2 separate regions of the Homo sapiens genome follow, and region 1 is linked to region 2. The links are contacts of gene promoters, found by promoter capture Hi-C in blood cells and fetal thymus (Javierre and others, 2016). All regions are on one chromosome and are shown on one strand. Each heading gives the region's core, a stretch centred on a gene start or on the middle of the fragment in contact. The rest is flanking DNA. Distances are from core to core; before and after follow the strand shown.

Region 1 (6,079 bases), core at 3,011-5,510, 98 kb after region 2:
CCTTTGGGCATGCGCAGAGAGAGGGCTGCTGCCCACACATGCCAGTTTCTTAGTATGCCCAAGGGTACATGGGCCTGGTGTCTCCCTTTCTTCTTCACTACCAAGTGCAGGCATGGGTCCCCCCACATGCCTCCTCCCAGTGCAGAGGACTCTGATTTTGTTTGTTTTGTTTCGAGACAAGAGTCTCACTCTGTTGCCCAGGCTGGAGTGCAGTGGCCTGATCTCAGCTCACTGCAACTTCTGCCTCCCAGGTTCAAGCAATTCTGCCTCAGCCTCCCAGTGACTGGAATTACAGGCACACACCACCATGCTCTGCTAATTTTGAGTGCAGAGGACTCAGGTAGAGTCCTCTGCTCTGGTCTCTGAGGTGAACGGCCTTTCTGCTGAAGGCTGCCCCCGGGCTCACAGGATAAGAAAAGGGATAGAGGGGCCGGGAGCAGTGGCTCACCCCTGTAATCCCAGTACTTTGGGAGGCTGAGGCGGGCGGATCACTTGAGGCCAGGAGTTCGAGACCAGCCTGGCCAACATCGTGAAACCCCATCTCTACTAAAAATACAAAAAATTAGCCGAGTGTGGTGGCGCACGCCCATAATCCCAGCTACACGGGAGGCTGAGCAGGAGAATCGCTTGAACCTGGGAGGCGGAGGTTGTGGTGAGCTGAGATCACACCACTGCACTCCAACCTGGGCGACAGAGTGAGACTGTCTCAAATAAAAAAAAAAAAAAAAAAAAAAGGATAGAGGGCCCAGAACTCCCATGTGTCTATAAATGGAGAGTGAAGGATTCAACTGTTGAAGGAAGCTCTTGCTGAACGTGGACTAGTGCTTACTGTGCATGCTATGCTTACGTTGTTTTGTTTTGAAGTGTAAATAGGTAGACTCAGAAAACCCTGCTTCCTCTGGTCCATCTGCGCCCCCTGAGGGAGGGATGCTCCAGCTGGACAAGAGCTTAGACACTGCCTTGAGGGCAGCAGTAGTCAGAATGCAGCTCCCAGACCGCACCCCTCATCTCCCACCAGCGGACCCTTGAACAAGTCACTTAACTTTCTAAATGCTGTTTCCTCATTGGTAAATTGTGGACAACAGTACTGGCTTTTTAAGATGGTTGCGAGGATTGAATGAGATAGAGTGTATGTCGTGCTTTTAGCACAGAACCTGGCCCCAAGTAAGTGCTCACTAGCTTTCTATTATAAGCCAACTCCTGAGTTCTGAAAAGACTGGGTTACTTGGAGGCAAGAGTCTCAGAAGGAGTCCCCAAAGCTGATCAGAAGCTCAGAATGGGAAGGGGCTGGGGCAGGAGGGCTGTGCTTTGATTTGCTGGGGATGGAGTCTCAGCATCACCAGAAAGCAGAGTTCTGGAAATCTCACTCTGTTAATCATTTTGTACTTTCAATCGAAATTCCTTTTTCCTTTCCTTTGGCTTTTGGCGGCAGCACTCCCATGGTGAAGGTCGGTCTGCCCCAGCTGTGCTAAGACAAACAAAAGGAGGGGAGCAGGGTGTGGCAGATGGCAGCCAGCAGGGCTGCAGGGAGGGCTGGCGGATGGCAATAGGGCATCCTGCATGGCAGGGCATCCAAGCAAGGCAGCCCAGGGTGAGCTGTGAAGGGGGCATGGGCACAAAGGGGCAGCAGCTCTCCTTCACCCACCCAGGGAGTCCCCTTCTGGGCTCCTATTTTGTCATAACCTGGAGGGCTTGATATTTTGTCATTCCATCCACTACCACCCTTTACATCTCCCCCGCAAGACCAAAGACACTCCCCATTAAGACAAGAGGCAAGTGGATTACTTGGTGTTGGGATTTGTTGTGAGGTTTGCTGACACCTTGACCATTTTTCACTGGCTGGAAATGAAAGGAACTTCCCACTTGCTCTTTGAAGGCAATTTCATTCTCTCCAGGGTCCTTATTTCCTTCCCATATTCTCTCACACTCCCAAACTTCTGAAGAAGGGAGCAAACTTTGGCCACGAGGAAGGAGTGGAGCTGAAATAAGAGAGTCCAGGGTCTTGGAGGTGAAGGGGGAACGGCCAGGTCCTCTAGTCCAATCTTCTTTGCTACCTCCCCCCTCTTGTCGCTTTGCCCAGACCACACACCTGCCTCTGTACTTGTCACTGCACCTGCACTGTTGAATCCACCTTTCCTGGGTCACGCCGCTGTGCTGGGTGGTCACAGCCTAGGACCCTGTAGAGCCGCAGCCTCCATGTGAACTGGATTCAGGTCTGGTGCTGTGTCCTCAGTTCAGTGGCACACTTGCAGCTGAACCTCTTGGGGCTGGTGGGCACCAAGGGTCAGAAGCAATTCTACCCAAAGATGCTGGTGCTACCAACTAACTCCTCAAGGTAGATAACAACATATGGCTGTGCCCAACCTGCACTGGCTGCTGACCCAACCCTACCCTGTCCAGCCCCTCTACCTGAGTAAACACTTTCAGCTGCCCTCGAGAAATGGTAGGATTGGCTATGTGCTGAGCCTAGTGGCACTGCAGCTCATGGAGGCAGCACCGGCTTCAGGCCGCTGTGGCCTTGGTGGTCCCTTTGATGGCACGGAGGTGGATAAATGCCTGCATCAGCTGACACTGAGTTTGTGGACACCAGGGACCTCTGCAGCTAGCTGGGAAATCTTTCCCAGGAGGTCTCCCACCCCTTCCCTCTGGAACACCCCCTGACGAGGCCAGGGGAGGAACCCCTACTCTATGTTCTACTCTGGTACCTAGTGCTCACGGTGAGCAGGCTGGCTCGGGGCAGCCCTCCTCAGAGCTGGAGCGCCTTTCAGGTGCCCTCTGAACAGATACTGTTCAGAATACAGATAAACAGATGCCACCAAGGTCCCCTAGCTGTGCAGTGGAGGGGCAGGTTTCAAAATCAGATCTGTCTCCAAAGTTCCTGCTCTTAAACAAAGCTGTCCCATCTTCCCACCCCTCTCCATGGGCCTGTCCTCTCCTCTAAGTACCATATCCCAACTCTCCCAGGACTGGCATCATCTTAAGAGTCAGTGCCTTCTCTGTTCCCAGGGTCCCCACTGACTCCAACCTGCCCACGTCCTCCACTACATGAACCCAGAACTGTTGTACATGATGGAACCACCTCCATGCCCATGGGTACTGTCCTGCCACCAGCCCCAGTGGGAGGCACCTCTGCCTGTCCCTGTCCAACCCCAGTACCCCATCTTGACCAAGGCCATGCCCTGACCTGCCTCCAAGAACAGACCAGCAGCTCACCCCCTAGACAAAATCACTTCCTCTTTAATTGCTGTTGAAGAAGATTCACACCACTGCCTCCAAGGAGATGGGGGGGCATTTCCCCCTTGCCCCCACCTCTCTCCCCTCCCCAATTACCTGGTCCTTTGCAAACTATTTTAGCCAGAAAAAAAAAAAAAAAAAAAGACCGGAAACCACTGACACAGACAGCCCAAGGGCTGGGTTGGCTGAGGGAGGCAGGGCTGGGCCAGGTAAGTCCGCCCTATCACCCAGTTTGTGGGGAAGGGGCAGGGGGCCTGGAAACCCTCCCAGCCACCTCGAATCCTCTCAGCCCTGGCTGGGAGAGGTCACGGGGGTGAGGAATGGCTCTGGAGCTGCTCCAGTGGGAGGGAGGGGCTGGACAGAAAGAATAATGGGGGAGGGGTCCCACTGTAGGGGTGCCCCCTACCCCAGATCACCACGGGCGCTGCACAGTCACAGGTACGCAGTCACGGTCACAGACACAACCCGAGAGCACCCCCACCCCAACCCACCCCCTGCCCACCCTGGGCTTCCCCTACCCCAAAACGCCCTCCCCACGCCCCTGCCCGCCCCCATCCCCATGTTGGGGAACAAAGCAATAAATTACAAGGCCCCCGCAGCCCTCTTAGCCCGCTCCTGCTCCATCCCTTCTCCCTCCCAAGATAGTAGTGGGAGGGACCCAGGCTCTTGGTTCCCCCCGGACTCTTTAGCTTCCACCCATGGGTAGGTGTAGGGGACGTCCTGGTTTCCACTACTCACGGTCCCTTTCACGGAAAGGGTTGGGAACCCCCACCCCCATGAGCAGCAGGGGTCCTGCCCCTCGCTGCCCTTGCCCCCTTCACTGGGCAGTGAGATGAGCATGGAAGGGGTAGGGTTTCCGTATTGGCCCCAAGTCCCGGGGCTAGCCCTCCCATGTACTAAACCCTCCCTCTGGCGTGGCGTCGCCCCAGGAGCCAGCCTGGGTATGGGCTCCCGCCCTGGGATTGTTGAGCTCGGGCAGGACCGGGTCTTCTTTCCGCCCCTAGGGGGCACAAGCGGGCATGTCCAAGCGCCTAGGAGCCCGTACCGCTGGGGACCTCCCCTTCCGCGAACCCCGAGCGGGTAGACCCAGAGCAATCCGAGTGTGGAAACAATGGAGAGGGGGCGTGTTGAGCTGGGGTCTCCATGCCTCGTTGGGGAGAGGGAGGTGAGTTTGTGTCTTCTGGAAGGCGTGGGGGCTGTGCCCTCGTGGGGGTAGGAAGTGCTCCCGTGGGGCGGGGTGCGGATCGGAGAGGTGAGTGGGTGCGTCTGTCCAGCGGTCCGCCCGGTGTGGTCGTGCCCGGCCCGCGTGGGGATGGGGGTGTCTCTCCCGCTGGGCAACTATACCAGCGCAACCGGGGCGTCGGCGCGGCCCACGCTAGCGGCGCTGCTCCGGCGGCGGGGGCTGGGCGTGGCGGTGATGCTGGGCGTGGTGGCCGCGCTGGGCGTGGTGGCCGCGCTGCCGCCCTCACCCGGGCAGCCGTGCTGGAGAAGGATGTCGGCGCACAGCTGGCTTCCAGCCTGGCGGGCGTAGAACAGCGCCGTGCGGCCCTGGGCGTCACGGGCCGCCACGTCCGCGCCGTACTAGAGGGCGGAAACGGCCGCGTGACCGCGCGTCCCCAGGGCGCCCACACCCGGCGCCGCCTCCCCCACATGGCCAAGCCTACTTCCGGGGTCCCTCTGGGAATTTCGGGCTTTCCCGCGCCAGGCGTTTTCCGAGATGAAGCCTCAAAGACCCCCTTTCCTCCCCCCAGCTCACGTACCCACAGCAGCAGTTGCGTGATGACGACGTGGGCGAGCTCGGCCGCCAGGTGGAGTGGGGAGCGCAGCTGTGGGTCCTCTACGCTGGTGTCGAGCGGCCCGTGTCGCGCATGGGCCAAAAGCAGGAGAACGGTAGCCACGTCCTGGGCCTGCACGGCGGCCCACAGCTGGCGGCCCAGCGGCTCCTCCGAGGTGCTCAGCGGCGCCAGGAACAGTAGCTGCTCGTACTTGGCGCGAATCCACGACTCGCGCTCCTCCCTGCAAGACCAGGGATCAACGGAAAAGGCTCTAGGGACCCCCAGCCAGGACTTCTGCCCCTACCCACGGGACCGTCTCAGGTTCGCACACCCTCAGCAACCCTCCCCCCGCTCTGTTCCCTCACGCTTACCGCGAAGAGTCCCGCGAGGGCTTGGCACGGCCTCGCGTGTCGCTTTCCCACACGCGGTTGGCCGTGTCGTTGCCAATAGCCGTCAGCACCAGGGTCAGCTCCCGTGGCCAGTCGTCCAAGTCCAGCGAGCGAACGCGGGACAGGTGTGTGCCCAGGTTGCGGTGGATGCCAGAACACTCGATGCAGATGAGGGCGCCCAGGTTCAAGCTGGCCCACGTGGGGTCTGCGGAAGGAGCGTAGAGGTCGGCTCCCAGCCGGGCAGCACAGGCACCCCGGCATTCACTACACTCCCTAGCCCCTCCGCTGCCTCCTGGCACTCACTGGGGGCCCCGCAGTCCACGCAGATTGAATTCCCCTTGGCGTTCCGGATCGCCTGGATGGCCACGGCCTCGCTTTGGCTGTCTGTGCGCAGCTGCAGAGAGGGTTTGGGTTGGCACTGACTCTGCCTCCAAGCCCCACCTCCTTCTCAGACACCTCTGCTCTCCTCTCACACGACTTCGGCCGTGTCGTTGCCAATGGCCGTCAGCACCAGGGTCAGTTCCTGCGGCCAGTCCTCCACTCCACCTCAAACTCTTACCTTGACCTTGCTGCTCTCACAGCATTGCAGACTGGCTAGGATCTGACTCTCGATGGCCTGGACCCAGGCATCCCGCTCCTCAAAACTGGCTGCCTCAAAGTGCCACGTCTGACCCGTGCTGG
Region 2 (6,214 bases), core at 1,727-4,226:
CCTGGAGTGGCACCTGGGGCTCGGAGAAGGAGAAAAGGTGAAGGAGCTTGGTTTAGGAGGGATGTGGATCCTCAGGGAGTGGGAGGCAGGTGGGTGTTCTGAGGGGGATCCTTGTGCTCAAGGGGTGCATGTTCATGCTGTGTTTCGGGAGTGGTGACTGCCCTTCTTTACTTATAGGAGACTTCAAAGCCAGATGGCCCAATGGTTGCAGGTGAGATGGGGTGACAAGAAGGAAGATTTGGGCATGTTGCATGGTGACACCTGGGTACTCCTGTCTTCTCCCATTCTAGTTGCTGAGCCTGTCAGGGTGGTGGTCCTAGACTTCAGTGGTGTCACCTTTGCAGATGCTGCTGGGGCCAGAGAAGTGGTGCAGGTGAGGGAGAGGGTAGGTTGAGGAGAAACCCCTTAGCATCTCACTCATACCCTCTGATCTGGGACTTAACCCCTTTGCCCCATCCCTGCAGCTGGCCAGCCGATGTCGAGATGCTAGGATCCGCCTCCTCCTGGCTCAGTGTAATGGTGAGATGTGTGGAGAAGAGCGGGGCCCAGTGCCTGGGCAATGACTGGACACCTGCGGTAGGGAAAAGGACCCGGTGTGGACTTAGGGTCTCAGAGTCTGACACCCTCCCCACATAGCCTTGGTGCAGGGGACACTGACCCGGGTAGGACTCCTGGACAGGGTGACTCCAGATCAGCTGTTTGTGAGTGTGCAGGATGCAGCTGCTTATGCCCTGGGGAGCCTGTTAAGGGGCAGTAGCACCAGGAGCGGGAGCCAGGAGGCACTGGGCTGCGGCAAGTGAGGCAGGGGTAAGTGGCTGGAGACCCAGGGAGAGGGGTTTGGGAAAGGGTCTGAGGAAGATCAAGAAGAAAAGGGTGGGGACGGAATGAATAGTAGATTGAAGACCAAATCAGGGAGCCCGGGCTGAGCTATGGGTGAGGAACTGAAGAACTCAGATCCCTAAGTAGGTGGGGTACCCCTGAGAGGACTGCCACATTTCATTAAGGAAGAGGGGTGCCTAATCTATTCCTGACATGTCTCCTCTCTTCTCCAGGAGCTCACTGACCCAAAGATTTGCACCGTGTGGGTCTGACCTCATCATGTGGAGTGCAGAGGGCCCTGATGACATGTGTGTGATGAGGACCATGACCCTTGAACCCCCTTACCTAACGTAACTAATAAAATGAAGCTGAGAGCTTTGGAATCCATGAAGTGAGTCTAGGTGTTTGCACAGGGACTCTGGTGCCCCTTCTTTTGTGCCCACAGCATTGCAGAGACACAACTAAGAATGGCTTTCACCAACCACCAGCCCTCACCCCAGCCCCAGAGCCACAAGTTCTCTCTGTGGGGGTGGGGCTGGAGCAGGTACACAGAGTACTGGATCTGAAGATGCAGATGAGGGGCACAGTCTTGGGATTATGTGTTGGGGAACTTCCCCACCCCCTCGGTCCCAAGATGAGAGGACAGTGTTTCCACCTTAGGTTCTTAGAGTCCCTCTGGGCTCTTTGGCACTTGGAAAGTGATCCCCCCATTTCCTGCCCCATGAGAATGGGCAGGGGGAGGACTTGGCACTGGCTGTGGGAGAGGTTATGGCTCCACCAGGCCTCTGGGCACTGGAAAAAGGAGGGGTGTCACCAGGACAACCCCTACTGGGCATCAGGTTCTGAAAAGGAAGAGTGAGGAACTAGAGGCTCAGGGACAGCCAGTAGAGTGCTCACAGGGTGGTGGGGTTTGTTGGAAATTCCTGGCAGGGACAAGGAGGCAGGCCCAGCCTGACAGTCAGAAATCCCCAGCGGGCCATCACTGGGAGGTCATGCACTGCAGCCGGTGTTTGAAGAAGAGCAGCCGGTGTTTGGCCATCTGGCTCTCGTCCAGTGATCCTGGGTAACGGTACCGGGCGTAAGTCTCTGCTCCGGCATCCCTTGATGTCCAAGGCAGCTTCAGTTTGGATGCATGATCCACCACGACGTCGGAGCAGGAGCCAACCCGAAGGGAACCAAGCCCATCCAAGAAGAATTCTGGGGGTGGAGGGGAGTACACAGTGAGGGATCCTGAGGGTGCAGAAGGCCGACTGGTAAGGGAGAACTCTCAAATTTAGGGTGTGGAAAGTGTGTGTGCAAAGGCTTGTTTCTAAGGACCCTGAGCATGTAAATCAACTCCCTGGGTCTCAGTCTTACTCTTGTGTAAATGGAGTCAATATACTTGTGCTTTGAAAATCGAAAAACCTACCCCTACTCCCAGAGGTTAAATAAACGCCAGATGGGTTGCACCGACTGTGGTCTGAACTAGGGGAAGCCCTGGGAGTAGAGCAGGGGTGGCGGGAACAGTGATGGGGAAGCTTATGGGGGCCCAGCGGCTGTGCTGGGAATGGAGATTCAACATGGCACATGTATACACATGTAACAAACCTGCACGTTGTGCACATGTACCCTAGAACTTAAAGTATAACAAAAAATATATATATTTATAAAAAAAAAAAAAGAGTATGCGGGGCTGGGAGAGGGTGGGAGCTGTCTCTCGCCCAGGTGCAGGTCTTGGTAAATCACTGCAGAACTGTTCTGGGGTTCCCGCTGGCGGCTGGGCGCGGGTGCAGCCTAGGAGGAGAGGCGCGTGACCGTGCGCCAGCTCCCCGTGGGGCTCCTGCCAGGGTCGACCGGGAGGGGGTGCCACTCACCCAGATGAGCCACGCGGCTGAGGCGGGGGTCGAAACCGACCTCGCGCACCTTGTCAGTCCGCGCCAGGAAGAAGTTAACCACGCCGTCGGTGACCACGCAGCCTGGGAAGCCGACGAGCTCGTGGTGGAAGCCGCGCCTTTGCCGGAGGCAGTTCCCGAGGCCTGGGGCGCCGGGCTCCACGCTCAGCAGCTGCCGATAAGTGGTGGCAAAGCCGGAGATCTCGCGCACCGCGCCCCCCACCTGCAGGGAGAGGGAGGTTGCCTCCAGGCGGGCCTGGGATAGGGGACCCGAAGGGGTCAAGGTCTGCGCTCCGGTGCCTTCGGGGGTACCCCTGCCCCATCCTCTTCCGCTTCACCCCTGCAGGACCCAGACAGTTCCCAGGCCCCACTTCGTGGTTCTCTCTTTGTCCTAGGGCTGGCCGTTCCTGGCCGCAGCGCCCCCGCTGTGGCCTTAGCCTGTTCAAGGCCCTTCTCCACCCCCACATCCTGCAGCCCCTGCCCTACCAGGTCCAGCGGCGTCCGCTCCAGCACGTCCACAAGCCTCTCCAGCCGCGTCCGCGCCGTGAAGACGAAGTCGTCGTCCACCCACAGCACGTACTTGGTGGTTACTTGAGACACGGCCAGGTTCCGGCCTGCGAACCAGCCCTGGCAGAAAGGTGTGTGTGGTTGGGGAGGCTGCAGAAATAGGACATGGCCCTCTGCCACCTTTCTTTCTCTCCCCCGACCCTTCTCAGCTTGTATTCTTCTCCAGACTTTTGAGTGCTTTCGAAAGGCCAGGAGCTAGGTAAAAGAAATGCAGATCCCCACAGAGGTTCCAAGTCAGTGGTCTTAGAATGCGTTTAATTTCCGTGTGCATTTATTTATTCATTCATCAGCTATTTTATTGAATGCCATTAGGCACTAAGCACCATTCTAAGAATTCAGAGAGAATTTCCTGCTCCCACGAAGCTTACATTCCAGGAATCCTCATGCTTAACAGGCACCCCATGATTCTGAGGCAGGTGGTCCTCGAATCACTACCCTGGAGGCTGCAGATTGAGGGCACACCCCCTGCGGGAGTCCTCTGGCCTGCCGTTCAGCCTGCTAGCTGCACACCTTGCCGAAGGGCATGAGATAGTGTTCCACGTAGGGGCCACTAACGCGCTCTGGCTTGTCGCTGTCGTCAGCGATGACCACGGTAACCGTTGGGTAGAAGCGGCGGATACTGGTGATGAGAGCCCGTAGCCGATCATAACGGAGGAAGGTCTTGGTGGCAATCGTGACTAGAGCGCTGATGTTGTACTGGGCTGAGATTGGGGGCACAGGGTTGGGTGCAGACAAGGAGGGTTGGGAGAGGGGAACAGGTAGATATCCCCTCCCAGGACTGCCCTCTCCCAACTTGCTCCCCACCAAGGCTGGTTCTAATATGTCCCTGCCCCTACCAGCCTCACCTCCCTGGGGTAGAGACCCAGGTGGGTACAGCCGAGGGTTGGGCGGGTGTCTTATGCGGATAGTGAAAGCAGCCTCATGTCCCTCGGTGGAGAACCGGACTGGGAAGAAAGGACATGGCATTTGACCCTGAAGGGTGGGATAACATTCTGTTTTCAGCCAATCAATATTTAAGTGCCTACTCTGTGTCCCACCTTTCTAGGCCTTGGTGGACAAGAACAGAAGGTTCTTACCTTTATGGAACTTACATTCTAATGGGTAGGAGAAAAAACAACAAAGAAAATTTTAAGTAAAAGCTAATCTTTATTGAGCACTTACTATGTGCCAGACCCGTTAAAAAATTACCTTAAATATATGCACTCATTTTATCCCCATGATAGCCCTATTAAGTAGATTCCTACAACAGAAAAAAAAGCTGAGACACAGAAAAGTAACTTGCCACATTTACACAACTATTAAGCAACAAAACTGATAGCAACCTAGTCAGTCTGGTGCCAGGCTAAGTAAATTAAAAAATTCAGATACTGGTAAGTATTGAGTGGAAAATAAGACAAACAAGTAATGTGATAGTGAAGAGGAGGCATTTGAACTGAGATCTAAATGACAAGAAGAAGCCAGTCTGCAAAAATCTGGGGAAGAGCATTCCAGGCTGAGAAAATAGAAAGTGCAAAGGCCCTAAGGTGGAAGCAAACTTAGTGCAACAAACCAGCTTTGGGGAGAAGCAAAGAGGGCTTTTAGGCCTCTTTTGCTGGAAGAGAAATGGGATCTCAGGAAAGTAAAGACCTTTGCCCTCTAGTAAGGGGTGGGTTGGGAATATAGTCTTCTAACTCCTTAGACAAGTCTCTTCCTGGGGCCCCCCACAGTTGGCCTAAAGGGGAGACACACCCAAGGCTCGGGTTTCCCTCTGGCCTGCTCCAGCCCCAGATGAACAAAGGCCCCCTTTCTCCCTCTGGCCCTGCTGGTCCAGTTGAAGCACCCATTGTGTGGCTGGACAGCTCTGGCCATAGCCCAGATGCCTCCCATGCCCTCTGCCATTTGCCCACTCCAGCCTTTCTGGTTCTTCTCTGTTTGCCCAGCCTGCCCGTCTCTCCACCCAGGCCTTGCACCTGTGTCTGCTGTGTTGGTCTGGTAGCTTCGGCTGCTGTAAGTGACCAGTTGTAGTTGCCTGTTGAGTTGGTCCAGCCCTGGGCTGACAAGGGTGAGATCTGCCTGACCCTCTCCAGTGAGAGTAACTCCAGTCACTTCCCCTGCCACGTCCCAGGTGCCTAGGGAGGCAGTCAGGTTCACCTAGGAGGGGATTGGAGAGTGCAGGGTTAGGCCCCAGACCCACTTCTTGCCTCCCTGATTCGCCCATCCTTCCCTTAGTAGCCCTGCCTCCCTCCCAGCATTCTTGATGCCTACTTGGCCTCCTTGCCTTCTTGTTTTCTCTCACCTGGTATACCTCCTGACCAGAAGCTGCCTGAAGGCTCAGCCCTAGGAGAAAGGAGTGGGGGGATCAGAATCACATAGGCAGCCCTGAATTCTTTCTCATTTTCTCTCCCTGCTGTCACCACACACAATAGAGAACTTTCCACCTATTCTTCTTATTGAGGCCTCAGCAGGGCACACTGTATAACATAGCCTACAGTGACTGATTTTTGAGCCCGTCCCGTCAAAGCTTGCCCTATGGCCTGCCCTGACCACCACCTAACCAATGGTTAGTCAGCAAAGAATAGATTATTTCCCCCAAAACTCCCCAGTTACAGTCTTCTGAAATTCCTAGAGTCCCTTCTGTCCTCACTTCCCACCTCCTAAGCCGCCGTTTGAGCTTAAGTCCCCCATTCATCAGAGGTTCCCACCTCCCATTCCAATCATCTCCCATTCTTCCCCACCCAACCTTGGGCTCTGCCACCCCCACTGTGGCTGAGGTCATCCTCTGGGACCCTCCTCCCTACCTGGCACCAAGATGCTCCTGAGGGGCTGAACTTCCACACCCTGTAGGGGGTACTGGAGCGGGGAGTTGGCAGGGGCTATGAGCAGCTGGTCAGCTGGGGACTGGCTCCTGGCAGTGGAGGAAGGAGAGGACAGAGCAGAGTCGGGGGGAGAGGGTCTCTCCCTCCCGGCACAATCACTGC

The links. The method cuts DNA at HindIII sites, captures the fragments that hold promoters and counts their contacts. A CHiCAGO score of 5 or more calls a contact.
Region 1: a contact is called between the fragment with the promoter of AGAP2-AS1 here and a fragment that was not itself captured in region 2, in 3 of 17 cell types (M1 macrophages, naive B cells and M2 macrophages). The highest score is 5.4, in M1 macrophages.

What each region holds. Positions count from the first base shown.
Region 1 is chr12:57,721,980-57,728,058 of GRCh38, forward strand. AGAP2-AS1 (AGAP2 antisense RNA 1) reads left to right here and starts at 4,261. Exons shown (of 2, transcript NR_027032.1): 1 at 4,261-4,399; 2 at 4,986-6,079. It overlaps AGAP2 (ArfGAP with GTPase domain, ankyrin repeat and PH domain 2), which reads right to left. Exons shown (of 19, transcript NM_001122772.3): 15 at 5,958-6,079; 16 at 5,702-5,792; 17 at 5,381-5,603; 18 at 4,995-5,250; 19 at 3,218-4,815. The coding sequence ends at 4,573. RefSeq lists enhancers at 4,843-5,478, 5,479-6,079. The HindIII fragment of the contact is 18,142 bases long and covers 1-6,079 here.
Region 2 is chr12:57,624,946-57,631,159 of GRCh38, forward strand. It overlaps B4GALNT1 (beta-1,4-N-acetyl-galactosaminyltransferase 1), which reads right to left. Exons shown (of 11, transcript NM_001478.5): 4 at 6,035-6,141; 5 at 5,533-5,573; 6 at 5,207-5,387; 7 at 4,103-4,201; 8 at 3,768-3,958; 9 at 3,177-3,317; 10 at 2,673-2,913; 11 at 1-2,016. The coding sequence ends at 1,799. It also overlaps the pseudogene SLC26A10P. Among named protein-coding and RNA genes, the nearest start is that of B4GALNT1, 5.1 kb to the right of the region's middle. The HindIII fragment of the contact is 1,284 bases long and covers 2,335-3,618 here.